Regions from separate parts of the Homo sapiens genome. Here region 2 is linked to region 1. Evidence: promoter capture Hi-C in 16 types of primary human blood cells and fetal thymus (Javierre and others, 2016). All regions are on one chromosome and are shown on one strand. The core of a region is centred on a gene start or on the middle of the fragment in contact, and the rest is flanking DNA. Distances in the headings are between cores, read along the strand shown. Region 1 holds the start of DNAH2 (dynein axonemal heavy chain 2). Region 2 overlaps ARHGEF15 (Rho guanine nucleotide exchange factor 15).

Region 1 (4,915 bases), core at 1,008-3,507:
ATCCAGAGGTCTGGCCCCCAGCTCACCCCAAATCTGCTGTTCCCCACTAGGGACTGGGGTCTCTAGACCTTAGCCTCTGGCTCCCTTTCCCCCTCCTCAGCCTTTGCTCCCCTCCGGGACCCAGGCGTCCTGCCCACTCCCTTCACCATAACAACCATTCTTTTGGAGTTGCTTAAGACTTTAATATCATTTCATTAAGTCAGCAAGTTCAGAGAAGGTTGGGGGCACAAAGAGACTGGGGGTGGGCAAAAGAGGGCCAAAGTAGGGGGGAGGCAAGGAAAGATCCCCCACCCCCCTCTCCGTGGAGATGGCTCTGAGAAATCAAATATTGACAATGAGGGAACAGAACTTATTAAATCTGGGACAGGGATGTGTGTGGGGAGCTGTGGGAATGGCCGGATGCCTGGGTTCGGAGGGTAATGAAGGTTCTGGGAGGAGGAAAAGGGCCGTGGCTGGGAGGTGCAGCAAGGCTGAGGCTCGAGGTCACAACTCTTCTGCCCTTTCCTTTGGGATGTACACGGTCTTGCAACCCTGGCTGTTTCTCTAGCCCCGAAGAGCCCCTGGGGAAAAGACCCCCATCATAGCTAGCTGTGGTTGCCCCGCCTTCGTCCCTTCCCCCTACCTCCACCTCTGTTGATGAGCTTCAGCAGCGTTTAATCGGATTGAGCAGTAATTAGCAAAGCGAGATGTTTGATTACCTATTTAGCATAATGTGGGGGGCTGGGATCCGTAGGCACAGCCACAGTTGGGGAGGGGGGTTTAAGAAAAGAAATGGGGTCTGTGCAAAGTTCCTTTCCCCGAGGGACCCATGAACCTTGCCCCTGAGGCTCCCCACCCCACGCCTCCAGCAAATTTTCACTCCTTTGGGACTTTTCCCTAGGGGTTCTGGCCAACCACATCACCTCTGTCTGCCACCCATGGCCTATCTGGCTAGAGGAACACCTCCACGTTCCATCTTAGCTGTGCTAGCTGTGCAGCTGGTTTTGGGGTGGGCGGTACTCCTCTCCTTCCATTCCTGCTGTCAGCAACAGGAGTCTGGCTGGGCAGGAGGAATTATTGGGGGTCGGGGGGAGGGAAAGGGTTGACACTTCTGGGAATAAAGATACGGTAGGTGGGAGGGTGAGGTCAGCGCTGGGATAGGGTGTGGTTAATCCACTTGCTCTTCAGGAGTACCAGGGACTGCCACTCCTGGTAGTGCCAGGCTGGCATAATGAGATCTGTTAGGTGTGAACGCCAAACAGAAAATGGGGGAACTGAGGTGCCAGCTTCTCTTCTCCTCATCCAGCAAAGAAAATGTCATAAATTTCGCTCCTCATGGAAATGTAATCAGTGGGCTCGCTGCTGGCTTTGTCTTAATTAGGCACTATTGATGGAAACAGGGAGGGCGCCTTCCCATCCCCCCACTCGGCTTCCTCCCTGTATTTCCCAGGTCTCCCCAAAGCTCCTCCCGGCACCAGGTACAGCGGTCTTCCAGGCGCCTTCTAGCAGCCCCGGCCCGCAGCGCCCCCTGGCACCCTCGGAGATGTACCCCGGCCCTCATAGCCCTCCCCTCTCGCCTCCTCTCTCACGACGCAGCCTTTGTTCCTATGGAGAGCGAAGCCCCTCCCAGGCCCGGTCACCTTCCCCAGGGAGTCCCCGCCTCTCATCCCCCCCAAAAACCAGCGATGCCTTCGAAAGCCAATCCTCAGATTCCCAAAACTCCAGTTCCCGTCTTCCCTCCCTTTCCCCGCCCCGCGCCGCCCCCCCGCAATCCTAGACCCCAATCCGAACTAAGAAGGGGGAAGGAGCAGGAGGGCAAGGGTGCTCCAGGCCCGGTTTTTCCCCCGGATCCAGCTGCACCCACGGCTGCCTGGAAATCCTGGAACGCCTTCTACATCGCGAATATCCCTCGCCGGCCTGGCGCCCGGCGCCATCTGCTGGACCCGTTCCGGCTGGGGCGCACAGACCTGGGCGCGGGGTCGGGCGATTGGGTTCTCCCTGCCTTTTCAATGTCCTGCGGGGCGGTGGCTCACTGTCTCTCGCCCCAGCCCTTCCAGCTGGGTCCTGACACCAGGCCCCCCGCACCCTTCGGCTCGCCAGATGTGGCTACTTTCCTTTAGTCCCGGAGCCTTCAAGCCCTGGGTCCCTGAGGGGTAGACCTGGGCGGGGTGGGGCCGCGAAGCAGGGATCCAGGGCGCCTGCGCGGAGGAGGCGGGCTCCGAGGGGCCGCACACCGGCCACTCGCCCCTCCCTGCCCGGGGTTGCCATGGGGACGCGTGCAGACGCCGGCCCGAGAGGGCTGCGAGGGGCAACTTCTTAGAGTGGCCCATCGGTCGGTCTAGGGAGGGGAGGGTCAGCGTGGCAAGGTGTGTGTCGGGGGCAGAGGGAAGGAGGGAAGGAGTGCTGGGGAGAAGGGGCAGTAGTGTCGGGGTAGGAAGGGACAGTTGTTGGGGAGAAGAGGCAGTTGTGGAGGGAGAGGGAGCAAGGAATATTTGTGTGGGGGAGGGGGAGGAGAAGGGGCAGTTGTGACAGCTGGGGGGGAAGAGCCATTCTGAGGGGAAATTTGCCTGCTGGTAACCAGTTTAAGGATACCAGCTGCTGGTATAAATACTGCTGGATAAATACTGCTGGATTTATACTGCAGGATAAATACTGCTGGCCCCTGCGGTATTTCCTAGTACTAGAGTGAGCCCCGACTTAGCAGAGCAGTTCCTCCTGGGGCCTGCGGTGTGGGATCGCGTGGTGAACCCCACGGTGCATGCGCCTCAGGCTCTAGTTTGAGGCAGGAAAGCGCAGCTTGATGCTTCTCTGGAGACTGATGGAGGAAGCCTCCTTGCTGTAGTTGGTTTTATTGATTTGCTGGCCTAACAGAACGTTTTTCCTTGGAGCAAAGTACAAATCCTTCAAGTTTGAAATTCATAACCTGAGATCAATGCCTGTGGCAGCCTGTGGGGATGAGGAAGGAGAGCCACAGGTGCCGTTAGGCTGCAGCCTAATGAAAAGAGAGTGCCCAGCGCCTCAGACTTTGCGCCTGGGATTCTGAGCACCTGTCCGAGATCCCCGCTTCCTGCCATCCTACCTTTCTGAGAGAGGCACCACTGTGACCTTCCTCGTGCCCCAATTGCTTTTTCCTCATGACACAATTTGAAATTTATGATTGGATGACTTTTGTCCTTCTTTCTTCCAATCTGTTCTCAGGGCATTTTGAGTCAAATAAATGATCCTGACTGATCTTAACCATTAGCACAGAGTTCCTCAGCCAACTCTGCTAAGAGACCTCAGTACACACAAAACAGTGTTCCTGCCCCTCAGGACTTCAAAGCGATAGACCCAGGTGGCAAATACTGTTTTTCTCTGTTTACAGATGTTGCAGATTTTAGTGGGATTGGGAGGAGCATATTTCCATTTAACTTGGGAGGAAAAGAGGTACATAGGAAAATCATCTTGGTTTGCTTGAATGATTGAACAGTGACAAAGGATGGGGGATGTGCACCCCTTCCTTGATCCTCTCTCACTCACTCATGGTCCTGGAGGGTAGAGTGGATGAGGGTTTGGGCAACCACACTTCAGCTTGATAGATCTTTTCCTGATTATCTTATGTTCTCATACCCCGGGGCAGAGATAGAGGTTCTAAATCCTCATTAGTGGGGTGTCTGGCCATCTTTTTTTTTTTTTTTTTTGAGATAGAGTCTCACTCTGTCAGCCAGGCTGGAGTATAGTAGCATGATCTTGGCTCACTGCAGCCTCTACCTCTCGGGTTCAAGAGATTCTCCTGCCTCAGCCTCCCGAGTAGCTGGAATTACAGGCACGCACCACCACTCCTGGCTAATTTTTTGTATTTTTAGTAGAGACGGGGTTTTGCCATGTTGGCCAGGCTGGTCTCGAACTCCTGACCTCAGGTGATCCACCCGGCTCGGCCTCCCAAAATGCTGGGATTACAAGCATGAGCCACCGCACCCAGCCTGGCCATCATCTTTAACTCCCATTTGTTCCTAGTGCCTTGAGGGACTGACTTTGATTTTTAGCCCAGTGCCCCGAAGACAGTAGGATATCCTAGGGAAAAACAGCAAGGCCTCCCAGGCCCCTGTGGAGTACAGAGCCCTTGTGGTTAATGGAGCAGGGTGTGGGTACCACCAGAAAAGATGATCATATTGAGTTTCAGTCAATTTATGAATTCAAAAGGGACTGCTTGTATCAGGGGGCTGGTTCAGGGGTGGTATCTGCTTGTAGACTCTCCACTCCTGTATACCTGTAGGTTTTGCCTGCACGATGTCCAGCAAAGCTGAGAAGAAGCAGCGATTGAGTGGCCGAGGAAGCTCCCAGGCAAGCTGGTCAGGGCGGGCCACTCGGGCTGCTGTGGCCACACAGGAGCAGGGGAATGCCCCGGCTGTCAGTGAGCCAGAGCTGCAGGCTGAGCTCCCCAAGGAGGAGCCTGGTGGGTACTTGCTGGGGCAGAGGATGCTTAGCAATGGAGGGTGGGGAAAGTCAGAGGGGCTTGGAGGCATTTTAGGGCTGGGGAGCAGGCGCTGTTGCTTCTGGGCAGGAAACGGGCTAAGTGACGCCCCCAGCCATGGAGGTTCAGCAGCCCTGCCACTGAGTCCTTTTTTTGTATGTCTTCCTCCTGGCCAGCCTCATCCTTGTTCTTTCTGTCTTAAAATTTCCCACAATATACCAGGAGTTCACCAACCAGTCCTTTCTCTAGCCTCTTCCTCCTTATTTCAAGTGTTCCTGGTTGCTCCTACCCCACTGAAGAGGGTTTGATCTCTTCCTTTTTCCCATTTTCACCCTGGGTGGCAAAACAAATAATGTTTTTCTCCCATTAAGCCCATCACCATGGAGACTCAGCCTGTTTTGCCACCCTTTGAATCCAAAGCCCGGCTGATGCTTTCTACCATCTGTTGAGGGCTGTTCTATCTCCGCCCTCATTTTGGCAGGG
Region 2 (5,362 bases), core at 451-2,950, 600 kb after region 1:
AAGAAAAAAAAATAAGAACCTTCTTTTCAACATTTAATATGTGCCAAGAACTATGCTAAGCACTTTACATATATTGCCTTCTTGAATCCTCAAAACAATGCTATTGATATGCTAGGTGGGTATTAGCCCCATTTTACAGATAGGGAAGCTGAGGCTCAGAGAGGTAACAGGACTTGCTCAGGGTTCTGCAGATGGTGAGTGATGAGGTCTGTCAGCCTTGTTGAAACTGGCTGAAACAGACAGGGTCCTCTGAGCTGTGGCCCCTCTGAATCCCAGGGCCACAGAGCAGGGGGCCCAGTCACCCTTCCTCCTTGTCCCCAGAATATCCTGCGCCAGACAGAAGAGGGGTCCAGCCGTCAGGAGAATGCCCAGAAGGCCCTGGGTGCTGTCAGCAAGGTGGGCAGTGGGGAAGCTGAAGCAGGGGGAGGTGACAAGGTGGTAGAGAGAAATGGTAGGGAGCAGGGGGCTGGCCGCTGGGGTGGTGACACAGCTCCCCTTACCTAGATCATCGAGCGTTGCAGCGCTGAGGTGGGGCGCATGAAGCAGACTGAAGAGCTGATCCGGCTCACCCAAAGGCTGCGCTTCCACAAAGTCAAGGTACATCGCTGCCCAGGCTCCCCATCTTGCCCTGCCCCATGTTGCTGCTGCCACGCTAGAACCTCCTCTGCCTCCGCTTCCTCGCAGGCCCTGCCCCTGGTCTCCTGGTCACGGCGCCTGGAATTCCAGGGAGAGCTGACTGAGTTAGGGTGCCGGAGGGGGGGCGTGCTCTTTGCCTCGCGCCCCCGCTTCACCCCTCTTTGCCTGCTGCTCTTTAGCGACCTGCTGCTCATCACTCAGCCTAAGAGGTGAGTCCTAGGGAAGGAAGGAGCCCAGGCTGGAGTGGGCAGGAGGGGTCCAGCGGGACCCCTGCTGTCCTTCTGAACGACCTCATCCCTGGGCAGTGGGCAGCGGTTACAGGTTCTGGACTATGCCCATCGCTCCCTGGTCCAGGCCCAGCAGGTTCCGGATCCATCTGGACCCCCTACCTTCCGCCTCTCCCTTCTCAGCAACCACCAGGGCCGCCCCACCCACCGACTACTCCAAGCTTCTTCCCTGTGAGTTGTGTTTCCCTCAGAAAACAACCTTGGGACACTTATCTGACCTCTCAGACCTCCCCCACTTCCCCAGTCTCTCTCTTCTGTGGCTCCTGCCTCAGCCCCAGAGGATCTTTTGGGCCAACTGTGACACTTCCCAATATCCCCACCAGATCAGACATGCAGCGCTGGCTGGGAGCCTTCCCAACCCCAGGCCCCCTTCCCTGCTCCCCAGACACCATCTATGAGGACTGTGGTGAGTATCCCCCTAGAGGGGATGAGGGAAGAAAAAGCGAGTCTTAGAGGAATATGGGGGAGAAGCTAAACAGAATCACTTTAATGTCACCCACCCCCAACCAGACTGTTCCCAGGAACTGTGTTCAGAGTCGTCTGCACCTGCCAAGACTGAAGGACGGAGTCTGGAGTCCAGGGCTGCCCCCAAACACCTGCACAAGACCCCTGAAGGTGAGAAAGTCTTTCATTTATTTATTTTGTATTTATTATTATTATTTTTTGAGACAGAGTCTCATTCTGTCAGCCAGGCTAGAGTGCAGTGGTGTGAGCTCGGCTCACTGCAACCTCTGCCTCCTGGGTTCAAGGGATTCTCCTGCCTCAACCTCCCAAGTAGCTGAGATTACAGGTGCCCACCACCACGTCTGGCTAATTTTTGTATTTTTAGTAGAGATGGGGTTTCACCATGTTGGCCAGGCTGGTCTCGAACTAACCTCAGGTGATCCGTCCCCTTTCACCTCCCAAAGTGCTGGGATTACAGGCATGAGCCTCTGGTGCCAGGCCTTATTTCTATTCTTTTTTTTTTTTAATGGAGGTGGGGGGTCTCACTATGTTGCTCAGGCTGGTCTTGAACTCCCGAGCTCAAGTGATCCTCCTGCCTCAGGCTCCCAAAGTGCTGGGATTACAGGCGTGAGCCACTGCGCCTGGCCGTGTTTCATTTATTCATTCAATAAATATTTATTAAGCACCTACAAAGTGCCACTCGCTGTTCTAGGGACTGTGAATCAAATATATCACACTTCCTTCCTTGCTGGAGCTACGTTCTAGCAGAGGAGGCAGACGATAAAGAATGAGCAAAATAGATAAGTAAATTATAAAGTACATGTGAAGGTTATGAGTGTTATGGAAAAAAAAAAAAGTGAGCAGAGCAAAGAAGGTCAGGAGTTCCAGGGTTGGGCAGACTGAAATTTTCAATAGGGAGGCCGAGGTGGACCTCACTGAGAAGGCAACATGAAGCTTGATGGAGCTAATTTAGGCCCATGGTGTCTGGGGGAAGAGTGTCCCAGCTGGAGGCAGCAGGCAGTGCAAAGGCCCTGCGGCTGGTGTGTGACTGAGGAACTGTAAGGAGGCCAGTGTGACTAGCAGGAGAGAGAAAGGGGGAGAAGCAAATGAGGTCATAGAAGTGGCAGGGATGGGATCACGCAGGACCTGACAGGTCTCTGCAAGGACTCCACCTCTTACTCCAAGAGACATGAGCAGCCACTGCAGGGCTTGACGGAAGAGCAGCCCAGACTCTCTCCGAGCTGCTGTCACCTCCACTTCTGATGCCCTTTCTACCGATGCTCCAGGCTTGTCCATGAATTCCCACACCTACAATGACCCTGAAGGCCTGAGACCCCACGAGGCCCCCTTTGCCTCCTCACCTGCTCCCTGCCCCCACCTCATTGGAGCCTCTGTCTCTCTTCCCCCAGGTTGGCTGAAGGGGCTTCCTGGGGCCTTCCCTGCCCAGCTGGTGTGTGAAGTCACAGGGGAACACGAAAGGAGGAGGCACCTTCGCCAGAACCAGAGGCTTCTCGAGGCTGTTGGATCTTCTTCAGGCACCCCCAATGCCCCCCCACCCTAATGCAGGCTGAGGAGGGGGCACATGTTGGGAGACACCTACCAGTGTGGCACGGAGAGAACAAAGCCCATTCATCCATTGGATTCACTGTCAGTGGAGATACTACCTCTCGTGGCAACCATAGAGATCGAGCTTCAGGACAGAGCAGCCAATGAAAACGGCCGCCTGAACCCACAGCAATAAGAATGAATGAGGATGCCTTGAATGTGTGGCCAATGGAGACAGAGGCTTAGTGCAGAGCAGCCAATGGGTACTGAGCTGGCTGAGCCTATGGCCAATGAGTATTCCTGCTATGCTCAGGGCCAAGGAAGACAAATCTAGGTCATGGCAGTTGAAAAAGGGCCTCATTGGAGATAAAGTCGTAGGATAAAATTGGGAACAGGAATGAGCAGGAAGCCAATCAGCCAAAGAAAATGGTGATCTGGACCCAAGAGACCAGTAGTCACCCTGCTTGTTTCTGCAGCAATGACTGGTCCTGTCTTTTGAGTCTGGGAAATACTAGTTTCCATTCCTGGATGCTTCCTGTGCCCTCTCAAGCCAGTTCTTCTCTTCCAGAAGAATTCAGAGTATGTGTCTCAGAAAATCTGTGTGTGTACATGTGCATGTGTAGATATGTGTGTATATGTATCAGGAAAGGCATTCTGCTGACTGTGGTGTGTGTGTGGTGATTGTGCTCCTGACCCACAAATGACTGAGTGCTCCATTTCTTCCTTTACCCCCCATTTTTCCTATTATTCGCTCCAAGAAAGATGCTAAGTCTGAGCTCCAGAAGAGACTGTGCTGGGTGTGGCTTGGCACCCAGGGGATGAGAGCCCTGAGCTTTGGGTCTCTTGGAGGCTAGGGTTCTGTGGCAGTTGCAGGGCAATGTTATGGAGCAGCCAACGGCCTGGCAGAGGAGCCCAAGGGACTGAAGATGGCCAGTAGCTGGGTCCTGAGGCCCCTGAAGTCTGCAGACCCTTCTCCTTGCCCCAAACACTGGCCTCCATAATTCCTGCCTGCAGATCTCCCAACTTGAACTATAATCCACCAGCCAGCCTCAGCCTTGAGCTTTGGAACCACATTAGATCCTGCATCTGGGTGAAGAAACGGGAGCTGTGGACCACAGGCCAGCCAGTGAACCTCCTGGGCTTTCTTGCCTTTGTCCTGATCCTCTCACAGAAACACTGGGCCAAACAGTGGGGAGAGATTGGAGAGCGGGTGTGGCTGCCCAACCCCATCCAGAGCATCTGCTTCCAGATGAGCCAGTGCCTCGCATGATACCAGAGGAGGCGAGGGACAGAGACAGCAAGGCAGACAGTGGCTGGCAGGGGGGCCCAGGCCCGGGACGAGGCCTCCCCTTCAGCTCAGGCACAGCAACTTGCCCAGGACTGACACTGTCACCCTGACTGCAGGAGGCACAGGGACTCCGGGAGACTCAGAGGGCGAAGAGCACTGGCATTTGGCATGTCCATGACATTGGAGACTCCCCTAGCAGGGTGCCTGACGTGTGGGGAACCCTCAGTAAATAGTGGTGCATTTGTATTGAGGCTCTCTGAGGAAGTGTGTGCTTATAGGAGCAGTGGTCTCCAAGCATGGTTTATAAGGGGATGGGGCTGCTTGGAAAGGGGTCCAGAGCAGGGGTCAATTCTGTTGGGAACTGGGGCTTGAAGGTCATGTGCTAGACCTGAGTGTGTTAGCCCACTCACAGTTCCTGAGGGATCTCAGGTGGTGGTGGTTGTGGCGATGGTGGTGGGTTTGCAACAGCTGTGGTTGGGGGCTGCTGCAGGCTGGGCAATGCCTGGGGCTTTGGCAGGGGATGAGAATGCAGCAAGAAGGATAAAAAGGGCAGTCAGGGCCGGGCACGGTGGCTTGCACCTGTAATCCCAGCACTTTGGGAGGCCGAGGTGGGCAGATCACTTGAGCTCAGGAGTTTGAGACCAGCCTGGGCAGCATAATGAAACCCTGTCTCTACAAAAAATACAAAATTACCCAGGTGTAGTGGCATGCGCCTATAGTCCCAGTTCCTCGGGAGGCTGAGGCAAGAGGATAGCTTCACCCTGGGAGGTCGAGGCTGCAACGTGCCATGTTCGCATCACCGCACTCCAGCTTGGGTGACAAAGCAAGACCTTGTCTCAAAAAAAAAAAAAAAAAAAAAAAAGGGCAGCGATAAAGGCCCTTTACTGACCAGCCAATCATCTCTGTGTTTAATTCAATTATACCTATTTATTGAGTGCCTTCTATGTGCCAGGCATTGTTCTAGGATCTGGGGATACAGATATGAAAAAGACAAAGTCCTTGCCCTCAGGAAGCCTTCATCCTGAGGGTGAGAGGTGACAGGGACAATTACCATGTCAACAAATTAATAAGTAAGATAAGATCAGGCCAGGCATGGTGGCTCACCCCTGTAATCCCAGCACTTTGGGAGGCTGAGGTGGGCGGATCTCTTGAGGTCAGGAGT

Evidence for each region. The method cuts DNA at HindIII sites, captures the fragments that hold promoters and counts their contacts. A CHiCAGO score of 5 or more calls a contact.
Region 2: a contact is called between a fragment that was not itself captured here and the fragment with the promoter of DNAH2 in region 1, in 1 of 17 cell types (activated CD4 T cells). The highest score is 7.6, in activated CD4 T cells.

What each region holds. Positions count from the first base shown.
Region 1 is chr17:7,715,487-7,720,401 of GRCh38, forward strand. It overlaps DNAH2 (dynein axonemal heavy chain 2), which reads left to right and starts at 2,258. Exons shown (of 86, transcript NM_020877.5): 1 at 2,258-3,313; 2 at 4,235-4,414. The coding sequence starts at 4,249. The HindIII fragment of the contact is 13,987 bases long and covers 1-4,915 here.
Region 2 is chr17:8,318,066-8,323,427 of GRCh38, forward strand. ARHGEF15 (Rho guanine nucleotide exchange factor 15) reads left to right here. Exons shown (of 16, transcript NM_173728.4): 10 at 322-396; 11 at 505-597; 12 at 685-845; 13 at 942-1,094; 14 at 1,247-1,329; 15 at 1,434-1,538; 16 at 2,777-4,446. The coding sequence ends at 2,928. Among named protein-coding and RNA genes, the nearest start is that of ARHGEF15, 11 kb to the left of the region's middle. The HindIII fragment of the contact is 1,237 bases long and covers 1,083-2,319 here.